Regions from separate parts of the Homo sapiens genome. Here all the other regions are linked to region 4. The links are contacts of gene promoters, found by promoter capture Hi-C in blood cells and fetal thymus (Javierre and others, 2016). All regions are on one chromosome and are shown on one strand. Each heading gives the region's core, a stretch centred on a gene start or on the middle of the fragment in contact. The rest is flanking DNA. Distances are from core to core; before and after follow the strand shown.

Evidence for each region. The method cuts DNA at HindIII sites, captures the fragments that hold promoters and counts their contacts. A CHiCAGO score of 5 or more calls a contact.
Region 1: the fragment with the promoter of ZNF665 here is called in contact with the fragment with the promoter of ZNF528 in region 4 in 2 of 17 cell types (erythroblasts and total CD8 T cells); the score reaches 6.9 in erythroblasts.
Region 2: a contact is called between the fragment with the promoter of VN1R4 here and the fragment with the promoter of ZNF528 in region 4, in 4 of 17 cell types (erythroblasts, naive CD8 T cells, neutrophils and 1 more). The highest score is 7.6, in erythroblasts.
Region 3: a fragment that was not itself captured here is called in contact with the fragment with the promoter of ZNF528 in region 4 in 2 of 17 cell types (total B cells and naive CD8 T cells); the score reaches 5.3 in total B cells.
Region 5: a contact is called between a fragment that was not itself captured here and the fragment with the promoter of ZNF528 in region 4, in 2 of 17 cell types (naive B cells and naive CD8 T cells). The highest score is 6.0, in naive B cells.

Annotation. Positions count from the first base shown.
Region 1 is chr19:53,192,071-53,194,770 of GRCh38, forward strand. It overlaps ZNF665 (zinc finger protein 665), which reads right to left and starts at 1,288. Exons shown (of 4, transcript NM_024733.5): 1 at 1,242-1,288. RefSeq lists an enhancer at 1,104-1,253. The HindIII fragment of the contact is 17,049 bases long and covers 1-2,700 here.
Region 2 is chr19:53,266,336-53,269,035 of GRCh38, forward strand. It overlaps VN1R4 (vomeronasal 1 receptor 4), which reads right to left and starts at 1,388. Exons shown (of 1, transcript NM_173857.3): 1 at 341-1,388. The coding sequence starts at 1,330. The coding sequence ends at 425. The HindIII fragment of the contact is 11,315 bases long and covers 1-2,700 here.
Region 3 is chr19:53,161,226-53,163,925 of GRCh38, forward strand. It overlaps ZNF665 (zinc finger protein 665), which reads right to left. Exons shown (of 4, transcript NM_024733.5): 4 at 1,199-2,700. Among named protein-coding and RNA genes, the nearest start is that of ZNF347, 3.5 kb to the left of the region's middle. The HindIII fragment of the contact is 2,661 bases long and covers 70-2,700 here.
Region 4 is chr19:52,396,594-52,399,293 of GRCh38, forward strand. ZNF528 (zinc finger protein 528) reads left to right here and starts at 1,256. Exons shown (of 7, transcript NM_032423.3): 1 at 1,256-1,311; 2 at 1,774-2,026. ZNF528-AS1 (ZNF528 antisense RNA 1) reads right to left here and starts at 1,164. Exons shown (of 7, transcript NR_125345.1): 1 at 869-1,164; 2 at 602-674; 3 at 17-159. It also overlaps a transcript of ZNF880 not described here. RefSeq lists an enhancer at 568-1,767. The HindIII fragment of the contact is 5,447 bases long and covers 831-2,700 here.
Region 5 is chr19:53,237,097-53,239,796 of GRCh38, forward strand. ZNF677 (zinc finger protein 677) reads right to left here. Exons shown (of 5, transcript NM_182609.4): 5 at 1-1,461. Among named protein-coding and RNA genes, the nearest start is that of ZNF677, 16 kb to the right of the region's middle. The HindIII fragment of the contact is 527 bases long and covers 1,048-1,574 here.

The DNA of each region.
Region 1 (2,700 bases), core at 38-2,537, 800 kb after region 4:
TTCTCCTGCTGTTTCTCCTTCCCTCTATCCTTCTCTTCCACTTGTTCTGTTCCATTCTTGCAACTTGTTTCACCTCTTATTCCTCTTTCACCCGTCTTTTGGTTGTCCCCAATCTCCATCTATTTCTGCCTCTTTCTTCCCTTATCTCTGCTCTCCCTGTTAAATCCCCTCTTCCCTGTTTCACTTCCTTGTCCCCACTCTTTGGCACCCCCAGATCCCAGGTCTCCCCCTGCTGTGGTTCTCCCTCTGCTCTCCTTGTCACCAGCTGCCCCTTCTTGCTGTCCCAGCACCACGCTGCTCTGTCTATCCTGGCTCCAAATACCCCCTCCTCTCCCTAACTCTCCGTCTGAGGAGCTGCCCCTCTCCCTACCTTGCTGTCCTTCATCTCTCTAGACAGCGAGCTTTTCTCTACATTTCTCCAGTTGTTTCTCCATCCTGTTACTTTCTCAGCGACTTCTTTCACCCTTACTGTCTCTTTGTAAATCCTGACCCATCCTCTACTTTGCCATGTTTACTGGTTTCCCTCATTCTTTCCTCTGTCTCCGTTTTTCTACTTTTCTCTCAGCCCCCCTCTCTGTCTCCTGATCCCCTTGGCCCACACATTCACAGGGAGGGTTTGGAGTAAGACACCTGGATCCTGGAGGAGCACATTTTCCAGCGGGTGGAGCTGGGCAGGCAAGAACACCGGGTATCACAGGACAAGGCCCGGGCACCTCCCCAACGCGGGCTCAGGGGAAACGGTGACTGCGAAGGGGAGGCCTAGGGAGCAGCAGGGCCCGGCACGAGGAGGAGGGAGGTGGGGGGCGACGGCGCCTTAGGAGAGGGGTGGGGTATGCAGGATCCCAGGACCAGGCAGAGGCGCGGCCTCCCCGGGACTGGGGCTGCGGCGCTAACGCTCCAGTAGCTGACTAGGGCGAGGTTAGGGGACGGTAAAATCCTGCACCCACTTCGCAGATGAGGACTTCACAGGGCGCAGGTCAGTAAAGGGTTTTAAGCAGGAAACGGCGCAGGAAAGGAGGTGTCTGCATGGTCTGAAGGCCGAAAGACCGCGGGCAGGACCAGCCTGTGTGATTTTAACCCAAAGCGATGCGACCCCCAGAGTCTCGCGGCAAAGTCTGAATTTACATGGAATGGAGGGAGCCGTGCGGGGACTTTAAGGGCTATACGAACCCCCGGACATCGGGTACGGAGGAGCAGGGGACTCCGAAACGCAGGTTTAATCTAGATAGAGGGAAACTCACGCGGCGACTAACAGCCTTCACTCCAAGAGATCTGCTTCCGGGTTTGCAAGAAACTGCCCGCGCAGTAGGCAAAGGGGCGGGTTGCGGTGGGGAAAGGCCAGGCGTTGGGAGGGACTGAGAGCATAGGGTGGGCGGGGCCGGGGCGGGGCCTGAACCCTGGAGGCGGAGGTTGCAATGAGCCGATATCGCGCCATTGCACTCCAGCCTGGGTGACAGAGTGAGACTTCGTCTCTCCCAAAAAAAAAAAAAAACAAAACTTAGGCTATCTAAAAGTTTAACCAATGGCCAGTAATATAAGCAATCATGCATATGTAATGAAGGCGCCATAACAACCCAAAAGGAGAGGATTCAGCGGAGCTTCTGGATAGGTGAACACTGGGAGGCTCCTGCAGCGTGGTGCACCCAGGGAGGGCACCAAGGCTCAACGCCCCTTCTCCCATGCCTCACCTCACTGATCCCTTCCATCTGGCTGTTCTTCTGTCAACTTTGTAATATCCTTTATAATACGTAAATCTATGTAAAGTGTTTCCCTGTATTTTGTGAGCCACTCTAGCAAATTCGTTGAACCTGAGGAGGGGGTCAAGGGACTCCTGGATTTATATCTGATCTGTAAGCACAAGTCACAACCTCTGCTTGAGACTGGCATTGAAATGTGTGCACTATTGTGGGACTGAGCCCTCAACGTGTGGGATCTGATGCCATGTCCCGGCAAAATGGAACGGAATGAGAGAACACGCACCTGGTGTCTGTGGCAGGATTGCTTGCTTGGTGTGTGTGGGAAAACCCAGTACCTCTGGGCTAACTGTAGCATTCTGTGTTGTGAGAGAACAGTAGAAGAAACTGAATCAGTGTTTCCTATATTCTTAAATACGAATATGTGAGGTTTGTTGTTGTTTTTTTTTTTTTTTTTTTTTTTTTAGACAAGAGTCTTGCTCTTGTCGCCCAGGCTGGAATGCAATGGCATGATCTCGGCTCACTGAGCCACCGCCCCAGCGTGAAGGCATTTTTGAGCAAGTTATGTCTCCCTAATTCTGTTTTATTGTACTTTTCCCTAAGTAGTTATAATAGCCTCTAAATCTGTGTGGAGTTTTCAGTTTTGTGGACAATACAATAAATAGACAAATAAAAACCCAAACACAAGCTGATCTCTATAGAAGTGTTAGATATTATTTTCAACACACTAAGTGATACTCCGTATCTAGATAAGCTAAAGCACGAATGATGTCTTCTGAGGTGACAAGGTCCACAGTGGCTTTACAGAAACACTGGCCAGAAGTAAAAACTGTGATGATAATGGCAATAGCAATGACTGACTTTTCTGAACACTATGTGCAAGGCATTATTCGGAATACTTTACCTGTATTAACTCAAATAACAACATAATAGCCCATGAGAAAAAGATCTTTTCCTATCTTACTAGGAAACAACTGTGTCGGCCGGGCGCTGTGGCTCACGCCTG
Region 2 (2,700 bases), core at 138-2,637, 870 kb after region 4:
ATATCACACACTGCTACTTGTCATGTAACTTTTTCAACAATCTCACGCTTACTTAATTTCTGCATAGATTTATTATATCAGATCGAAGGTTGCACACTCAAAGAGATCCCCATCATTGCCAGATTGATTCAGGACCTAATTTTTTTAATTGCGTAGACCTTTAATGACTCTACTGCAGGCCTTAATAAAACTTTGATAATATGAATATTTACATAATAATTGCATCATATTTCATTTACAATTGTTCTTACTAGTTATTGTTTATCATTGGGGTGGAAGTTCACCCTGTCTTGTTCATCACCTTCTCATAATTGGGAGAGGTTCATAATTAAGATTACATTGCGGCACAGAAGAGTAAGTCATCAATTGAACCATGAGCAAATATATACAATGTACATGTTTATGATGAGGTTAGGAGATCTTGTCATCTTTTCCAGGCAAAACAAAACCTGTATACACTGGGGTCACAGCTCATGAGAACAAAGGGGCTGAGAGTTGGGAAACATACACTCATTAAGGCTGAAGTGTTCACCAGTAAACTATTGGGATTATCCAAAAGAGCCATACAAACTTGGAAAAGGCAGGAGAGAGTGTAAGAAGACACAAAGGTGCTCACCAGGATGAGGATGCTCTGCGTAGCTCTGTTCTCTGGGGAGGCTCTGGGGGAGAGATTGCTCCTATCAATGTGCTGGACCCGCTGCTTGTGCCTGTGCAGTATGCAAACCATGGAGCTGCTGACCCAGAGCATGAGCCCCAGACACAACACATCAGGGAATGATAACAACATTGCACGCAGTGTCTGTGCGATTTTGTTGTTGCCTCCCCCAGAACAGTATCCCAAATCCTCGTTCACTGTGATGTTTGTGTAGTTCCATTTGCCAGTCACATACATGGGAAAGATGATGTTTACCAACATGCACACGATCCAGCACAGGAGAACAGAAAAGCCAACATGCTTGGGGGCTTTCTCTTTAAGTTTTGCCCACCTGGATTTCCTGGAGCTGACCGTGATCACCTGGAAGACACTCAAGAGGCAGGTGGTGCCAATGGACACTCCCCTGCCCACTCTATGGAGATAGAAAACAAGTTTGCACCCAAGAGCATTGAGAAAATATCTAACCCCAAAAGCTGCCATTGTCTGGGGGACTCCTTTACAGCGGAGAGCTAAGAAGTTGGCTACAATCAGGTGCTTAACAATCAAATCTGTGGACCTTAACCTGCACCCAGTGCAGTAAAAGGAGAGATAATGGAGAAGAACAGAGAAGCTCCCCAGGACTCCCACCACGGTCTGTGATAAGATCATTCCCACTGCCACATACCGGGAGGCCATTCTGCCACTGATGTCTGTCACTGATGTTTGTCTTCAGGGCTGGGAGGTCCTGCATGGAAATAGGAGGCATGAGCTACGTTTATAGTGTCACCTGCAACCCAGCATTCTCCACCTCCCATTGCTCTGCCCTTAGAAATACTTAAAGTCACTCTTCTCTTAAGAGGCTTTTGAGAGTTGAATGCGTAACCTTTAAAGAGCACTTCCCATGTGGGAATCACTGCTGTGCAGATCATACGTGCGGCAACTTCTTTATTCACAAACCTATGAGGCAGGCATTACTATTACTTTCATTGTAAATATGAGAAGGACATACACACAGAGAGGTGAAGTGGCTGGCAACATTTCCACCCTACTTACAGGCAAAATGCGAACTTGAACCTGCCTGGTTTTATTGCAAAGACAGTGCATTTAGCCGTTATAGTTGACTAACAAAGCTAGATAGCTGTGTTCTTTGAATAAGACACACACACACACACACACACACACACACACACACACACACATACACACACACACCCCTTTGTTTTTATTCCTTGTCATTATATTTCAGTCTTGTAGTAGGTTACTGTATGTTGTAATGATTTTACATTATGTGTAAAAATGTATTCTATTTGTCAATATCCAAATAAATAAAGGTTTAGAGATCTTAAAAAATGTAGATGCAGGGATTACAGTTTGATACTATAGAAACCTGCACCATGACAAGTTGGATTTAATGACTGCAAGCATGGATCAATATTAGAATGGAAAGAGAGTAAAAAACATTGTGAGCATTTGCTTTTGTGCCACGGACAAAGGCATAAAGGCACCTACCACAATCATGTCTTACCCAAAACAATAGGACATGAAACAACAATATGGGATAAAATAGTGTAAGGTAATAACCAAATTCTTACAAATGTTAGATGACATATCTAGATCTATTAATAACTGAGTTAAATAAATTATTATCCTTAGGACAATATTTGCATAACTAAATTAAAATGTGACAAACGTGAAAATTGGAAACTCTAGTGGGTGTATATTATATATACTTTGTAAACGGAAATTAGAGAGTTTGGGTGATGTTAGAATCTATCTGAAGCAGAGAACACATCAGAGGACACATTTGAGTCTGATAGCTGCTCTCTTTAGCTCATTATTATAAAGTTACCTTTTCCTTAAATGCTGCCTCCTTAACATCAAGAGGAAAGACAGTCTCACCATAATCAACAGACTATGGCAGTTTTCAGTAGAGACACAATTAATGCTCCCATTAAGCCCTGCACACTCTCAGAATTAGAGAAAACATTTTCGTTCCAGCAACTACTAATTAGATACACTGTTTGTGTAAGGAATTACATGACTCCTGTAGAGTCAATCTATTCATT
Region 3 (2,700 bases), core at 150-2,649, 760 kb after region 4:
CATTTGGTCAAACTGGTCATGCTTGAGTGCTTCCTCCTTTGTCACTAGATGGACGTTCAAACCACACAAAGCTTCCTCTAACCCATCCCCACACCTTATCAACCATAACACACCAAGCAAGTTGCTTATCTGGGCTCTCAAGCCATTTTTAGACCAGCTTTGGAAGTCTACCCAGCTTTCCCCAGAAACCCACATTATGTAATAAACAGTCTCATAACACTTCTCAACCAACCTTTAGGTGAAGTTCAATACAGTTCCAGTAGAGAGGTCACAAGTTCAAATGATCAAAATGTTATGAGGGTGAACATACAAACTTTGTCGTTTATCTGCCAGGAAAAAAAAAAATCTGAATGTGTTATGTTCTTTCTTAAAAGAAAATTTATATATATTAATTTTTCCAATTGCCACTGAGCATTCCAAAGGTAAAAAAGAGATGTTGTTGTTTTTATCCATATTCCCCACAGTTTTTTTGTTTCCTAATATGTCATATTTTTACTATACTTGTATTTTCACTTCAGGTACATCAAGATAAATGCCATAGGTGTTATTTGGCATGCAAGAAAGAGACATGCAAAAATATAATAATACTGTGCATATGCATGAAGAGCAATGCAGACTTCAGGGTGTGAGAGTCTGAAATATCCTTTCTGTGGGATTTTCATTATACCACATAAGTATCCCAAGGCAGAGTGTGGAGAGAATAATTCAAGTACAAAATACAATTAGTTTCTGGGCTGGGCATGGTGGCTCACACCTGTAATCCCAGAGCTTTGGGGGGGCCAAGGCAGGTGGATCACTTGAGGTCAGGAGTTCGAGACCAGCCTGGCCAACATAGTGAAACCCTGTCTCTACTAAAAATACAAAAACTAGCCGGGTGTGGTAACGGGCACCTATAATCCCAGCTACTTGGGAGGCTGAGGCAGGAGAATTGCTTGAACCCGGGAGACAGAGGTTGCAGTGAGCCGAGATCACGCCACTGCACTCCAGCCTGGGTGACAGAATGAAACTCCATCTCAAACAAACAAACAAAAAAACCAAAATACACTTAGTTTCTGAAAATTATATGTTGTTTGATCCAACAATGGAAATCATTGTTCTAGATCCTTCGATAGCTTAATGGTGCAGTGTTGTTATCTGTTATGAAGTATGCTACTGAGGTAGGATAAAACTATGTTGGCAAGAAATGATTCATTCATACTTATAAAATACATCAAATTTTATTAGTTAAAACATTAAATCTATGATGCATTCTTAAATAGTAGCAAAATGTGATTCCAGCAGTTAATGTAAATCCTAGTAACAAACATGGGATTCTGGTTACTTTGATTAAACTTCTTATGCTCGGCCGGCCGGGCACGGTGGCTCCAGCCCGTAATCCCAGCACTTTGGCAGGCCAAGGTGGGCGGATTATGAGGTCAGGAGTTCGAGACCAGCCTGGCAAACATAGTGAAACTCCATCTCTACTAAAAATACAAACATTAGCCAGGCGTGGTGGTGCATGTCTGTAATCCCAGCTACTTGGGAGGCTGAGGCAGGAGAATCGCTAAAACCCAGGAGGCGGAGGTTGCGGTGAGCTGAGATTGCATCACTGCACTCCAGCCTGGGCAACAGAACAAGACTCCATCTCAAAAAAAAAAAAAAAAATCAATCTTTGCTATGCAACAGCTATTGGCATTTGATGGAGAAGGTAGCCTCCACTTTTCTGCATTATTTGTACCACACATCAGTCCCTAATAAGCTATTACTCTCCTCTAATAAAAATCCGAGTGTCTTCCTGGCTCTATTTCATGGTCTACTGGTAGAGAATTTCTTTCTTTCTTTTTTTGAGTCAGAGTTTCGCTCTTATTGCCCAGACTGGAGTGCAGTGGCATGATCTCGGCTCACCACAACCTCTGCCTCCCGGGTTCAAGCGAGTCTCCTGCCTCAGCCTCCTGAGTAGCTGGGATTACAGGCATGCGCCACCATGCCTGGCTAATTTTGTATTTTTAGTAGAGATGGGGTTTCTCCATGTTGGTCAGGCTGGTCTCGAACTCCCGACCTCAGGTGATCCACCCACCTTGGCCTCCCAAAGTGCTGGCATTACAGGCGTGAGCCACTGTGCCCGGCCAGTAGAGAATTTCTTCCCATACCCACAGTGCTCTTCTGTCAGAAGAAGGGCACCTGCAGTGCAATAAGGATGATGAGTGACATCATAGTTCATCATCCTCTGCCCTTTCCAAGTGCTCTCTAATTCAGACTATATTTAATTTTAAAAGGCAGAGTCTTTTTTCTTCAGGAGCTTGGAGAGAAATAATCCTCACCTAATGAAGTGAGTGAGCCCTTCCATCCTTTGATTCTTTCCCGAACAACACCATGTTAGGCGTATAATCATGTATAAAATCAGCACATTGCAAAGTTCTGGTTGGAAGTTATAAATAGTAGCCTTTTCAATAAATCTTAAATACTTCAACAAAACATTTTATAAGCTGAAAGTAATTGGCCATTTCCAAACATCCTACAACCTTTGATATGTATCATGTAATGAGTTTTAACACATTTGGACTTCTGATTATGCTGAAGTATATAATATCAGAGGGTTATGAGGAAACTAGAGACTGAGTTCTACTCTTCCTATGAATCCTCACCTACAGTTGTGGTCCAGGAGTAATAGTCTCAGCATGCATGTTACGTTTGTGTGACTTCATCAAAGATGTATCTTTT
Region 4 (2,700 bases), core at 6-2,505:
GTGTTTCAAAAATAACCTGAGGGCTTGATGTGGGGGTCCTTATCTCCCATGCAAGGTGATTCATGCCTATAATCCGAGCACTTTGGTAGGAGCAGATGGGAAGACTGCTTGAGGCTAGAAGCTGGAGACCAGCCTGGGCAACAAAACCAGACTACATCTCTATTAAAAACAAAGCAACAAACAGTAGAAAATTAGCACAGTGGAGAGGCACAGGCCTTTACTCACAGCTACTCGGCAGGCTGAGACAGGGGGTCACCTGCCCAGGACCCCAGGAAGTCAAGGTTGCAGTGAGCTATGATTGCGCCACTGCATTTCAGCCTCGGTGGCAGAGACCCTGTCTTAAAATTTTAAAAAGTATTAAAAAACTAAGTTGGACCGGGCGTGGTGGCTACTCTGGAGGCTGGGGCAAGAGAATCACTTGAACCCAGGAGGCGGAGGTTACAGTGAGCTGAGTGCCTGCCACTGTACTCCCGCCTGGGGGACAGAGGGAGACGCTGTCTCAAAACAACAACAACAACAAAAAACTACGTCGTTTATGGCTATTTTTATAAGTTACTGGCTTTTTTTTTTTAAAGAATCGGTGACTTATCTTCACACTGGCCTTAGTCCTCCATGCCCAACACGATGTCCCTAGGAAAGTCTCTGGAATTGAGCACAGGGTTGACCTTCACCGTCTAGAGTGAATGGGGAAGATAAATGAAAAGTATTTATCTTCTATGGGCACTGGCATGAAATAGAACATTCTACCCTGGCAGGGTTTTGCATTTCACATTTTAGCTTGCATCATCCCCTTCACAGACAATTCCAAAGTGTGTTAATTCAATTCCTAAAGCTTCCCTTCCCTTCCTCCCTTCCCTTCCCTCCTTACTTTTCTTTCTTGTCCATTTATTTTCGGTTTTTTTCTCTTTCTTTCTTGGTTTTCTTTCTCTTTTTCAACTTCTCTTTCTTTTCTCTTTCTCTTTACTCTCTCTCTTCTCTCTCTTTCTGCTTCCAGGGTAGGTGGGACTTGAAATTCATTTTAATAGAAGGAATTTTCGTGGATATAATCTACAACCGATTTTGCTCTGCGCAGGTAAGATCCGTTTTCAGACCAAAACCCTGAAAACAAGCGCAGCCAGTCAAGCGAACGGAAGCGCAGGCCCGGCCCAGGCTTTGTCCCGGCCCGCCCTGGTCCCAGCCAGTCCGGCCTCTAGGATGCGCGCGCAATTTCGTGCAAACCCGGAAGCGGACCGCGGGGGGCGAACGCCTAGAGCGCAGTTTCCGGTAGACCCGGAAGCCGATTGCAGGGAGAAACTGTTTTCGCAGCAGTGCGTGAGTTTCCCTTTGTCTATGTTAAGTCTAGGCTAGCCAGTTCTTCTCTGCTTCTATACCCGGGAGCTGAGGGGCATGCAGACCTTGAAATCCCGGCACCGCTCCCTCCACCCCGAGTAAATTCAGACATCCTTTGAGAGTCTGGGAGTCGCTTTCTGCGTGTTAAAATCGCTTGGAGGCTGGTCGTGTGCCCGGTCTTTTTGTCATTTACCCACGTAGACACCTCCTATCGTGGGGTTTACCTGCTTCAAATCCTTTAGTAACCCCTACACACGCCCCGCACCACGTAAAATCCTCACTCTCCGTTCCCCTAGCCTCGCCCTTCTTTGCCCCTAGAGCTCAGCGCCCCAACAGGGCACGAGAGGCCTCGTCCTCTGCCCAGACCTGGTTTCTGCAGACTCCACCCCTCTCCTGACCCACTCCTGCCTTTTTGCTCCTTAATCTGGACCCTCTGTTCCCCAGGCCTCCCTTTTCCAGCCACCGGTTCTCCTGACCCCGAGTGTGGGGGGTGACTTCAGTCTCCTGACATCCAGTGTTCTCTCGAGCCAGTTTCCAGCCCACAGAAAATGAGCTCTTCCGGAAGTGGGCATCTTATTCCAATCCCCTCCCTGTGAATGTGTGGAGAAAAAGAGATGGGAACGAGGCAGAGGAAATAGAGAAATTTTGAAAGAGAAATGAAGAATGAGAGACCCATTAACAGAAGGCAAAGTAGAAGGTGAGTGAGGGGTTTGCAGAGGCACAGTGAAAGAAGGTGCCGAGAAAATAGCAGGGGAGAAAAGTAACTGTAAAAATATAGACAAACCTGGGTCTGTAGAAAGACGAAATTCAACAAGATAGGGAAGGCTTCTCAGACAGAGGGGGGAGAGGAGGAGGGATTTGGAGCCAGGTCAGACAGAGCAGCGTGGTGCTGGGACAGCCAGAGGGGGCAGCTGGTCACAAGGAGAACAGGGAGAACCACAGCAGGGGGAGGCCTGGGATCTAAGGGTGCCAGAGAGTGGGGACAGGGGTGTGTAATATCGAAGATGGAATTTAACAGGGAGACCCCAAGGGGAGCTGAGATGTGGGAGGAAAGAGGCAGAAATATATGGAGATTAGGGACAATGAAAGATTGGGCAGAAAGAGGAATAAGAGGTGAAACAAGTTGTAAAAATGGATCAGAACAGGTGGGAGAGAAGGAATAGAGGGAAGAATGGGACAAAGAGAAGAGGAGGGACTCAAAATGAACAGAATCCTAGGGGAAAATAGAGAAAAAAAGAGCTAGGAAAAAAGATGAGAATGAGAGATATGTACAGAATGAGGCAGGGAAACAGTAGTGAGGAAAGAGGGGGACCCTGGTTACAGATGAGTGGTGAGTTGATTGGAAATTATGATTGAATTGTGACATATTAA
Region 5 (2,700 bases), core at 61-2,560, 840 kb after region 4:
TACAATGTTTCTTTTCAATGTGTATTTTCTGGTGTCTAGTGAGGTTTGCAAATTGGGTAAAAGCTTTGCCACATTCAGTACATTTGTAAGGTTTCTCTCCAGTATGGATTTTCTTATGCTGAGTAAGATTTGAACGTTCAGTAAAGGCTTTGCCACATTCAGTACATTTGTAAGGTTTCTCTCCAGTATGAGTTCTCTGATGACCCCAAAGGTGTGAACGTTTGATAAAAGCTTTATCACATTTATTACATTTGTAAGGTTTTTCTCCAGTGTGAATTCTCTGATGTTCCACAAGACTTGAACTTTGGATAAAAGCCCTGCCACACACATTACATTTGTGTGGTTTCTCTCCAGGATGTATATTCTGATGCCTAGTGAGATGTGAGCACTGCTTAAAAGCTTTGCCACACTCATTACATATGTAAGGCTTCTCTCCAGTATGGATTCTCTTATGTTGGGTAAGGCTTGAACGTTCAGCAAAGGCTTTGTCACATTCATTACATTTGTAAGGTTTCTCTCCAGTATGAATTCTTTCATGACCCCAAAGGTGTGAACGCTGGATAAATGCCTTACCACATTCATTACATTTGTAAGGTTTCTCTCCAGTATGCATCCTCTGATGACTTGCAAGATTTGAATTTTGACTACAGACCTTGCCACATATATTACATTGATATGGTTTCTCTCCTGTATGGACTCTCTGATGCCTAGTGAGGTTCGAACACTGGTTAAAGGCTTTGCCACACTCGTTACATTTGTAAGGTCTCTGTCCAGAGTGAATTCTCTGATGATTAGTGAGGTTCGAACTTTTGCTAAAAGCCTTTCCACAGTCATTACACTTGTATGATTTTTCTCTAATGTGTGTTCTCCCATACTGTGTATGTAATAAAGGGTATTTCAAAATCTTCCTATATTTATTACAAATGTTTTTGACACAAGGAGGAAGTGGTGAAACTGAGGAACTATTGATAGACTTCTCAACTGGATTACATTCATACATTTTCTCCCCAGTTTGAAATCTCTGTAGTTCAGCCAGCTGTGCCTGTAAGCTTAATCCAATTTTATTTTCAAAACACTTCACGTATTTGTTTCCGGCATACCTTATGTTATTTTTCAGTTTTAACAAATTCCTTATAAATGGCTTGTCATGGATGAAATACTGGTGTGCACTATCTCTTATAGAAACACTCTGCTTTAAAGAGAAATGTATTGAGGATTTATTATGTTGTTGATCTTTTCTGTGAGTGAGATTTTTGTTACAGGTCAAAGGCATTCCTTTGTAATTTTTTACATCATAGTCCCACAGGCTGTCAAACTTAGGCATATTTTCCCAGACTTCCTTGAGGTCAAAATTGTTGATGCCATGGCTTTCCTTTCTTTCTAATATCACCAGATGGTATAATTCCTCTTTATTATTTTCCTTTGGTGATAATCCCTTGCTTGTAAATCCAACAGAAATATCTGAAAGATATTAAAAAAACCACAGGCTTTCCATCAAATAGAGTTGCAAGGTAAATATTTTATTAAAATACATATTACAAGAAAGCTAAGATTTACAATGAACAGAGTTATGAAGCTTCTCAACTGTCTTTAAACGTTTAACAACACAAAGGGACTAGCTGTCCTCAATAAAGTAACACAGTAACAAAACATGTAACAAATTATTTTAAGCACAGTTTAAAACACCCTATAGCTAAAACACTCATACTATGTAAATCCACATAAACTCTGAAAGAAGAGGTATTTTTCCACCACCACTCCAAGGAACACGTAAATTGGCATAGCTATATGGTAGTCTCATATTTGAAGATAAACAAATAGTAATGCATTATTTAGTACATAATTATTACACACAAAAGGTAAGGCACAGCTCAAGCTTATCTAATAAAAAATATTTAAAAATGACAATTCATAATTGCAAACAAAACACTGAAAGAAAAAATTCGGAAGAATTTAATAAAATTTTGAATATTTACAAATTGCAAATGTGAGTACTTGTTATAAAACTACTTACACCCATGTAGAATGTGCATTTTGCAGCATTAACAATTTGTGCATGGTGGTTCTATTGCATAATATATACTGAAAAACCATCATCTGTAAATCATTACAAAAATAAATAAAACACTTTAGTAACCTGTGAAAATCTAACAGGCAAGTTAATGAACAACCACAATTACACAAAATTGTCAGTGAAATTCTAAAGAATTACTGCTTATGAACTACAGAAAAAACAGAAGGGACACACAATAGGAAAAATAATATGTTGAGAATCACTAAATTTTGAAATATCAGCTTCAGGTAAATGCACATTACTATAAAGATGAAGAATTAGGAGGGGAGTCTGAAATAATTTCATGCCTGCAGTTATATGACAGCAGTATATAGAGAAACTCCCTGACTAGGAAATGTCATCTAGTTTTCCAGTTCTATGGCCAAAAAATACATATAATGAAAGCTGTGTGCTTTAACATTTTATTATGTAGAGTCAGAGAAATGTTGATATGAAAAAAAAAATTACAAAAAAGAAAATATGTAAGATATAATGAAGGCAAAGGTCAATCTCATAAGAAACATGACAGACACTTGACATATCTTATTCATAAAGGTAACTTTTCAAAGCATACTAAATGCTATGCAAGTTACTAAGGTCTCTAACAGCACTAATTGATGTAAATCCTCTTGAGGTAAATTATCGCA